3 separate regions of the Homo sapiens genome follow, and all the other regions are linked to region 1. Evidence: promoter capture Hi-C in human tissues and cell types (Jung and others, 2019). All regions are on one chromosome and are shown on one strand. The core of a region is centred on a gene start or on the middle of the fragment in contact, and the rest is flanking DNA. Distances in the headings are between cores, read along the strand shown.

Evidence for each region. The method cuts DNA at HindIII sites, captures the fragments that hold promoters and counts their contacts. A contact is called where the count stands out against the background at its distance.
Region 2: a fragment that was not itself captured here is called in contact with the fragment with the promoter of FIGNL1 in region 1 in 1 of the 25 tissues and cell types used here (dorsolateral prefrontal cortex).
Region 3: a contact is called between a fragment that was not itself captured here and the fragment with the promoter of FIGNL1 in region 1, in 1 of the 25 tissues and cell types used here (mesendoderm cells).

The regions. Positions count from the first base shown.
Region 1 is chr7:50,448,878-50,451,699 of GRCh38, forward strand. FIGNL1 (fidgetin like 1) reads right to left here and starts at 1,473. Exons shown (of 4, transcript NM_001287492.4): 1 at 1,424-1,473; 2 at 241-846. RefSeq lists silencers at 994-1,288, 1,430-1,619. The HindIII fragment of the contact is 15,882 bases long and covers 1-2,822 here.
Region 2 is chr7:51,244,194-51,247,015 of GRCh38, forward strand. All of the region lies in intron 1 of COBL (cordon-bleu WH2 repeat protein), which reads right to left. Among named protein-coding and RNA genes, the nearest start is that of COBL, 71 kb to the right of the region's middle. RefSeq lists an enhancer at 1-125. The HindIII fragment of the contact is 5,893 bases long and covers 1-2,822 here.
Region 3 is chr7:51,089,637-51,092,458 of GRCh38, forward strand. All of the region lies in intron 6 of COBL (cordon-bleu WH2 repeat protein), which reads right to left. Among named protein-coding and RNA genes, the nearest start is that of COBL, 230 kb to the right of the region's middle. The HindIII fragment of the contact is 4,707 bases long and covers 1-2,822 here.

The DNA of each region.
Region 1 (2,822 bases), core at 223-2,722:
TAAAGCTAAATAAGCTAGAGTCAAAACTAGATCTGACCTCTTCTGTCAAGCAGTTCATCCTTTTTTTCACTATACCATTTTGATGTTAAACTCATTTATACAATACTAGAAATGAGAAACTGAAAGAAAGGTGACTCAGAAAACACTTGACACAAACTTTCACAATTAATATTATCATTCTCTTCCTCTCCATGGCTTCATTCCCCTTTATCATCTGTTATCCTGAAATTTCTACCATACCTCAGAGTTCTAGTCACTGTTCTCAGAATAAACCCCCTTCTCTTTTCCATCTTCACCTTTCCTTCAATATTCATCTTCCAAGTCTTACTTCTTCCTTTCAATTCAATCATTTAAATGGCAAATAAGGATAACCAAAAACTGGCCATCACCGATCAGTGACACAACCATTGTCTTGTTTACCATTTCCAAGTCAATTTAACCTTTATGGCCTTTCCTAGATCTAAAAAGTATGATTAATTAGCACTGTCATATGAACTGCATTTCAATCTTCTTTATTTTGCCAATGTTCTGATTATTTTAATAATGTCATTATCTGTCTTCCTAGACAGTTGGCTTCTGCAGGGAGGAATTGTTTTCCATTCCATTCACATTGTCTTAGTACCTAGAATACAGTGTCCTTTGGAATAATAGCTACTAAAATACTGACGGAGTGCCTACTCAGTACCAAGCACTGTGCAAGCCTTTCATAGGATTCTGTTCTTGATGCAAAACGGGAGTTAAGAGCACAGGGTCTGGAGCCAGGCTGCCTGCTTTCAAATCCTGGCTCTATCATCTGCCAGCAGTGACTGCAGGAAAATCTCTTAATGTCTTTCTGCCGGTTTTCACCTATAAAAGAAGCGCAGCAACATCACTGAGCTGACAAGGTATTTTAATTCTGCAAAGCACTAGACAGAGGACTCAGCACTTAGAAAATACTCTATAAAATACTGCTTCTTCTGATTCCTCACGATGACCCCTGAAAGGTATGAGCCCTTCTTTCTCATCACAGAGATTAAGAGCTTGCCTGGGTCACAGGGGAACTGACTGACCCCCGCTGTGGGCGCCCAGAGCCCCGCTGGGCCCAGTAAATGCCTGCGGTAAGCGGCCCCGCCCCCGGACAGGCTCTGCCAAAGGAAGCCGCCCGCAGACCTGGCCCCGAGCCTGCCGTCCACGCCGGGCCCCAGCTTCCTAATCCTGGATGAGTCTGGTTCTGGGCTAGCGGGTCAGCCACCCTCCCGCTAAGACAGAAGCAAAAGGGCACAGCCACTGCCTGGCTCCCGCCTCCCACGGCCTCCCGCGAAGTCACCGCCCCGCGACCCCCAGCATTCCAGAGGCACACGCCCGCCTCTCCCCTACGCCCCAACCCTGATGCTCCACAGGGGTCAGCAGCGCCCCTGCCCCGCCTCCCGTCACCGCATCCTACCTGCGGCTGGTGTGGGACGCTGGCAGCCTCCGAAAAGCGCGGGGACTGACGTGCGCCTGCGCGCTGCTGTCGCCCTCGGACTCGCGCCGTACGTGCGTGCGTGAGTGCGTGAGTGCGTGCGTGCGTGCGTTCGGCGCGCGGGGCGTGGGCGCGGCACCTGGGCCCGGGCACCGCCACCTAGGCCCTAGCTCCGACCAGTGGTGTTCTATAAACGCTTATTACATCATTGTGCATAGGCTTCATTTTTAAAAGTACTCCCAAATAAATACAAGGAGGCGATGGAAATTGAATGAAGATTCGAAGGATTCCCATAGAGCGTGGCTCACTTCCCCTCACCGGGACAGCGAGCGGCGGCTCACCTGGGAGAGCAAAGCGTGGCTCTCCTGCGCCCACCCGGGAGAGCAAACAATGGCTCACCTGCGCCCACCCGGGAGAGCAAGCGTGGCTCACCTGCGCCCACTCGGGAAAGCCAGCCGCCATCCTGTGCTGCAGGCAGGGAGCGGGCGGCGGGAGAGGAGCGGATCCACTTAGGTCAGCGGTTAAAACGTCGTTACAAGAGGCCACCCCGGCATCGCGGGGCCTGTGGCTGCGCCCCCTCTTGAATTCAGGCCTAGCACATCACCTCCGCCCCTCGCACCCTGCAGTCTGCGCTCCATACAGCACGTGAGCGGGTGCTCAGCAATGTTCCCTGGCTGAAAGAACCGCATAGAGTAGCATGCAAAAATGACATGCATGTTTAAGATAAAATAAGGGAGAGGACACCTGTTCTGACTGAGTCTGGCAACTCAGATCTCCCCGCAGCCAACATCTACATTCCTTTGGACAGCTGTCTGCTGTGTAGGGACACCTCCCTGGAACTTTGAAAAGCACCCCATCATTACCTTCCACTTTGTTCTGGAGCAAGGTTTCAAAAGAAGAGTGCCGTATTTTGATTAATTTAGTGAATTGGATTTTCAGACACAAGTAAGAGCATCCACTCAGTGGCCTCTGCAGTAAATAATGATATCAGATCACATAACAAGAAGACTGGAGGTTGGCGGGAAATCTGGACCTGGTGACTCAAAGAAGTCATGAAGGACCATCTCTCCATTCTGCCACCTTCTCGCCTGTGGATTTTCCTCCCCAGGCTTGTCACTTCATTGTCGAGAGATGCCCTCACAATCCAAGCCAGGCAGCCTCACATGACCAGATCTAAAACACAAAGAGGGAGCCAAACTGAGAAAGGACCTTTTCCCTCTGAACACTTCTCTCTTGGAAAAAGAAAATGTTTCCCAGAAAGCCTCATAGCCTTCCTCTTATATCTCCTTGACTAACTGGGACCCGGATCCCTGGATATCCTTTCCTGAGAAAGAGAGGGTCTGGGGCAGGGGATAGAGAAAATGACTAGCAACTAGCAGCA
Region 2 (2,822 bases), core at 235-2,734, 800 kb after region 1:
CCATGTTCCACTGCAAAATGTAAACACAAGAATAGGCCGCACTCCAAGGAGAATGTCTAAGTCCTCTACAGACGCCTGGACCAGCATGCCCCGGTGCCCCATGACTGTAGTGGGTATTTGCTGTCCTCCTTCCTGTACACCTGCTGTCATCCACCAAGGCATAAACAGAAACACTGACTTTTCAAATACTTCATGGTTTCTTGACTTGTTCAATCACACGGCCTTCTTTGCCAGGCTGCTGTAATAGCCACTCACATGTCCAAAACCTTCAATTAGGGAACTCTATATTCTGGCCACAGATAGAGAGAGTTGTGTGGATGCTGCCATTTGACAATACAGAGGTACTTCCTCCCTTTCACACCAAACCGATAGGGTCTCATGGGGCCCAGCCTCTCCTACGGCCACTCTCTCTCACCCACAGCATGCTCCAGTTCCAATCCCTAAGTGCCTCAGCTTTCCCCCAGGCTGCAAGACACTGCCAGAGGAAACAGGCCCTCCCCACAAAGTCACGTGCGGTGACCCCAACAGGGCCCTCAGGTAGATGTTCCTGCTCATTGCTCTCAGCCCCATTATATCATTGCTGCAGCCATTCCAAGTCCCGGAAGACCTCGCCCAACATGTTCTTGTCCTGGGCTCCACCTTCACCACGCCTCTGTCTGCAGAGACCCCAGGGAGTTCCTGCAAGGAACGCAGTTCCAGAAAAGGGCTAAGCTCACATCTCTTCTAAGGCTTCACCCATTTTTTTCTCTGCTCTCCTATCTTTAGTCTCTCCCTGTCTTGGCTCGCTAGCTGAGACTGTTCTTTCCTTCCTCTTTCCACACCTCCTTCCATTCAAAAGAGGAAACGCCTCCAAAGAGGAGCCCTACACCCAATGTCCCAATTTCCTCATAGCTTCCGAAACCCGCGCCTTTACAGCCAGGCTTCCTCCACACTCTAACGGACCTGATCAGTTGCCTCTTCCCATGATGACCTTCCCTGCCTCCCACACGCCCTTCTCCTGCAAGTCCACAGCTCCCTGAAACTCCTGCTTTCACATCTCCAGAGTCTTGTGGATGCTGTTCTTCTACCTGGAATTGCCATCAAAGTCCAACAAAACACCAGCCCCTTCTAAAACCCAGCCCATACTCTTTCATCTTCACTTTCTCCTCATCCCTACCCACTCCTGCTGAAATTAGAAGTATTTTCTGCAAACCCTAAATTAAGATTCCAATTCTGCGGTACTAAACACTTTCTCCACAGCTCTACAACATTTGTACTGATTCCCTTCCTCCCTTGGATTGGACAATTCTGTCTCAACCACCAGACTAGCTAACAGCAGCTTGCTGAAGTGTGAGCTCAACAGGTATCTGTCCAATGAATGAATTACATCCATAGAAGAAATGATATATAAAAATATATAAAATTAGAAATACAGTTTCATTCATTCTACAAACATGTATCAGGACCTACCATTTACAAGGTAATTCCTAGGGAGTCTATAACATAAATGATAGTACAGTGTATGGTCTCAGATCTCAGAAAGGTTCTAGAGGGGCAATAAGATAGACACAACTGTTTAGCTAAAAGCAAGGCTGGGATTAAGTGATGTGAAATAAGCAAAAGGCACCTCGCAAACCATATGGCACTATTCAAACATTGGGGCACTTTTAAAGTTTTCTTATTGACATTATCAAATTATGCAAAACAAAGTTAGGTAAGGGACAAATCCTGCCTGCAGAGTAACTTGAAATTTTGTGAGGAAATGATTTTAGCAAAAATAATATATTATCCAAAGACTTAGTTTTCATTATGGCAAAGATCTCTGCAAATGCAAAGAAGATATCTATGAATTATACCATGTGGTATGTATGTGTCATTTATTTTTAAGTAGAAAGGCCTAAAAATATCTAGTAGCATTTAGAAAATATTTCACACTTCTTTTTATCACTCCATGAATTTAAAACTAAAAAAATAAATATCCTAGCCTTAATGCAGAAAAGCAAGTATGTAAGTTTCCTACTTGAAATAAAAAGACAAAAGACTCTATGAAGAAGATGGCATTTTCTTGTATAATTTGGACCAGGGAGACAAATGGCCTGCAGCAAGTCTATCCAAGCAGGAGCTCCATCTCCATCAGCAGGGGCCGCCTCCTCTGTCCCTGACAGCTCAGAAGCCCATAGTAAATGCTGTTTGTTGTCAGCAGGACACATGCACCAAGCAATTCCCCTCCCCTGGGCCTCCTGCCCATCCTCTCATCCCACTTCCAATCATGGCTCACTCCCCAAAGCTCCAGGAGAAAATTCTCCCCTGGCACACAGCCCAGCCCTGACCTTGTCCCAGCCCCAACATCCCTGCTGGTCTGGCTGTCAGCCCCCGTGAGGTGGAGAGAGAATCCTGCCTGCACACCGTACAGTGTAGCACAGGCCATGCTATTAGATCTGGGCCATATAACTTCTATCTCATTCAAATAAAATGCAGAAACGCTGATTAATGAAGCATTATAATGTTTATGAAGAAAGAGTTATTGTGGTTGCAATTCCATGATGTCCTTGATTTGTAGATTCTATCAGTTACACAGATTGTCATACTTGCAGACTTCTTCCAGAGTTTGGCAAGAACAAATGGGCTTTTTTTGTGCAGATGACTCATTTACATTTTTAATTATTTTTAAACTACATGAACAATAAATGACTACATTGAACGATTCAAAGAAAAATCAGAGTGTGTTCCCAAAATAGCCTAGGGTGGACCCCTGTCCCCACCAAGTCCTAAACATTAGAGCCCAGCACGCCCCAGTAAGTCACCATAGCCAACACAGATGCAGCCTCCCTGCAAACACCAAG
Region 3 (2,822 bases), core at 116-2,615, 640 kb after region 1:
GAGGGAGAGACATAGATTTGTTTTGTTAGCCATATATTTTCCTGTAATTTTTCAGCTTTACTGAGGAACAAACAAGTAAACATTGTGTGTGTGTATGGTATACAACTGATGATCTGATATACATATCTATAGTGAAATAATCACAAGCAAGCTAATTAACATATCTATCAGTTCACATCATTACCATTTATCTTTTTTTTTTTCCTTTGTGGTAAAAACACTTAAAATCAACCCTCTTAGCAGAATTTCAACTATTTTTTAATGGCTGCCTAGTACTCCACAGAATTGATGAGCCATAATTAACTAAATTAGCCCCTATTGCCTTTAGCTAAATATTAAAATTATTTGGTTTTGGCAATAACAAATTAAACTTCTTAAAACACTCTGTAATTTTATCTTTTCCTCACATTTCTTTTTCTCTCTTTATTTTTCGAGTTTTCAATAAATCCATTTACTAAAACTCCTCAGGTATACAACACATAAAATTCAGTGAAGAGACAAGATCCTAAAATTGCTATCTCAATTTTAAGACTCCTTGTCATGAAGAAGTGATGTTGACTAGATAGCAGAAAAGGAAGCCCCGCACCTCAGTTTCCCCACAAAGACATCAACTTAACAGCAATTTGTAATCCAGAAGCTTTTATGAGAACTCCAGAAACCAGTTAAGAAGGCACAGGACCATAGGCAAGCTTAATGCCAAGAATGGCCATGCTGAAATGGGTAAGAAAAGCCATTTCACCTCAACTGTGACAGCCCTTCCCCTAACCCAGTATCGCTCAGTGTCTGCAGGAGAAAAGCCCAATTCATGGCTTTTCCCTTGGGAAGAAAAGAGAAGAATGGAATGTACATCTAACATTCCAGCTTTTCAGGGGGGCTGCCTGAGGGACTAGTTTATGTCTCGACTGACTGGGAGCACTGATGGGAAACTGGCACACTTTGAATGCCTGGGAGCTACTGAGAAAAAAGGAGCTCAGAGGCTGGTTGCAACAGCAGAGATCTGCCAGTGCCACAGGCAAAGGCCAGCACAGCTCAGTGCAATCAAGAGAAAGCACCCAGCTCACTGCTTATCCCTCGGGAGGAAATGAGTAAAAAGTACATGCAATGTTCTGGATTTGTGGGGAGGCTTGTTCAGGGACTGATTTCTGTCTCAGTTGACCAGGAATACAGACAAAACTGAAATACTATGGATGACTGAAGGCTTTAGAAAATAAGAGAGCTCAGAAGCTGGCCGCAGTGCCAGAAAATCTGCAGTACCATAGACAGATGCAAGAGAGAGCACGAGATTACAAGCTCATAAAGAAGAAATCAGCAAACCTTCTAATTGGAAAATACACCAACAAGCCCAGGGAAGATGGATATCCAGAAAAGGGTTGAGAGGCCCCAAGAATCTCTAGCTGAGCTGACTGACATGTTATTACACTGTAAGAAGCCAGTCCGTAAAGGCTGGAAGAGGTGGCTATTTTGTCAAATGCACAAATTACATTAAAAAATAACAAGGTACATGAAGAAACAGGGAAACATGGCCCAATTAAAGGAACAAAATAAACATCTAGAGAGAAATAACAATAAATGGAAATCTATGGCCAGAAAAGACAAAAAAATTAAAGTTCAGTGCACTACAAGAGAATACTCAGAAAGACAGCTAAACAAAATCAGCAAAACTATGCATGAATAGAATCATATCAATAAAGAGACAGAAACTATAAAAAACAGAAGTTCTGAAGCTGAAAAATAAAATAACCGAACTAAAAAGTTCACTGGAGGAGTTCAACAGCAGGCTGTATTAAGAAGAAGAAGAAATAATCAGTGAACTAAAAGACAGGTCAGTTGAAATTATTGAGTAAAGGAATAAAAAAAAATTCAAAAATTGAACACAGCCTTAAGGACTTTATGGGACAATGCCAAGGGGATGAAAATATGCATTATGGGGATCAGAGAAGGAGAAGAGAGAAAGGGGCAGAGAGTTGATCTGGAGAAGTAATGTCTGACAATTCTCCAAATTGGAGGAAGGAAATAGACATACAAAATTTTAAAAGCTCAAAGGACTCCAACTAGAATAAACCCAAAGAGGACCATACCACAATTCATTAAAATCAAGCTATCAATAGTCAAAGACAAAGAAAGAAACTTGAAAACAGCAAGAGAAATTGATTCATCACTTTCAAGGGAGTCTTATAATATTATCAGTAGGTTTCTCAGTAAAAACTTTGCAAGCCAGAAGAGGGTGGAATGACATATTCAAAGTGCTAAAAACGGAGAAAAAAAACGCCACCTGCCAATCAAGGATACTTAAAAACTTCCAACCAAGAATAGTTTATCTCAGGGGTTCCCAAACCCTGGGCCACAGACCAGTACCAATTCGTGGCTTGATAGGAACCAAGCTGCACAGCAAGAGGTGAGTGGTAAGTGAACAAGCATTACTGCCTGAGCTCTGCCTCACATCACATGAGTGGCCACGTTAGATTCTCTTAGGAGCGCAAACCCTATTGTGAACTGTGCATGCATGGGATCTAGATTGTGCACTCCTTATGGGAATCTAATGTCTGATGATCTGAGGTGGAACAGTTTTATCCCGAAACCATCCCTGCCCCACTGGTCCGTGGAAAAATTGTCTTCCACAAAACTGGTCCCTGGTGCCACAAAGGGTGGGGACTACTGCTTCATCTGGCAAAACTATATTTCAAAAGTGAAGTCGACTCATTCAATAAATCAATGCCGAGGCCAATGTCATAGAGCTTCCCTCTATGTTTTCTTCTAGTAGCTTTATAGTTGCAGGCCTTACATTTAACTTTTTAAAAACCATTTTAAGTAGATTTTTGTAT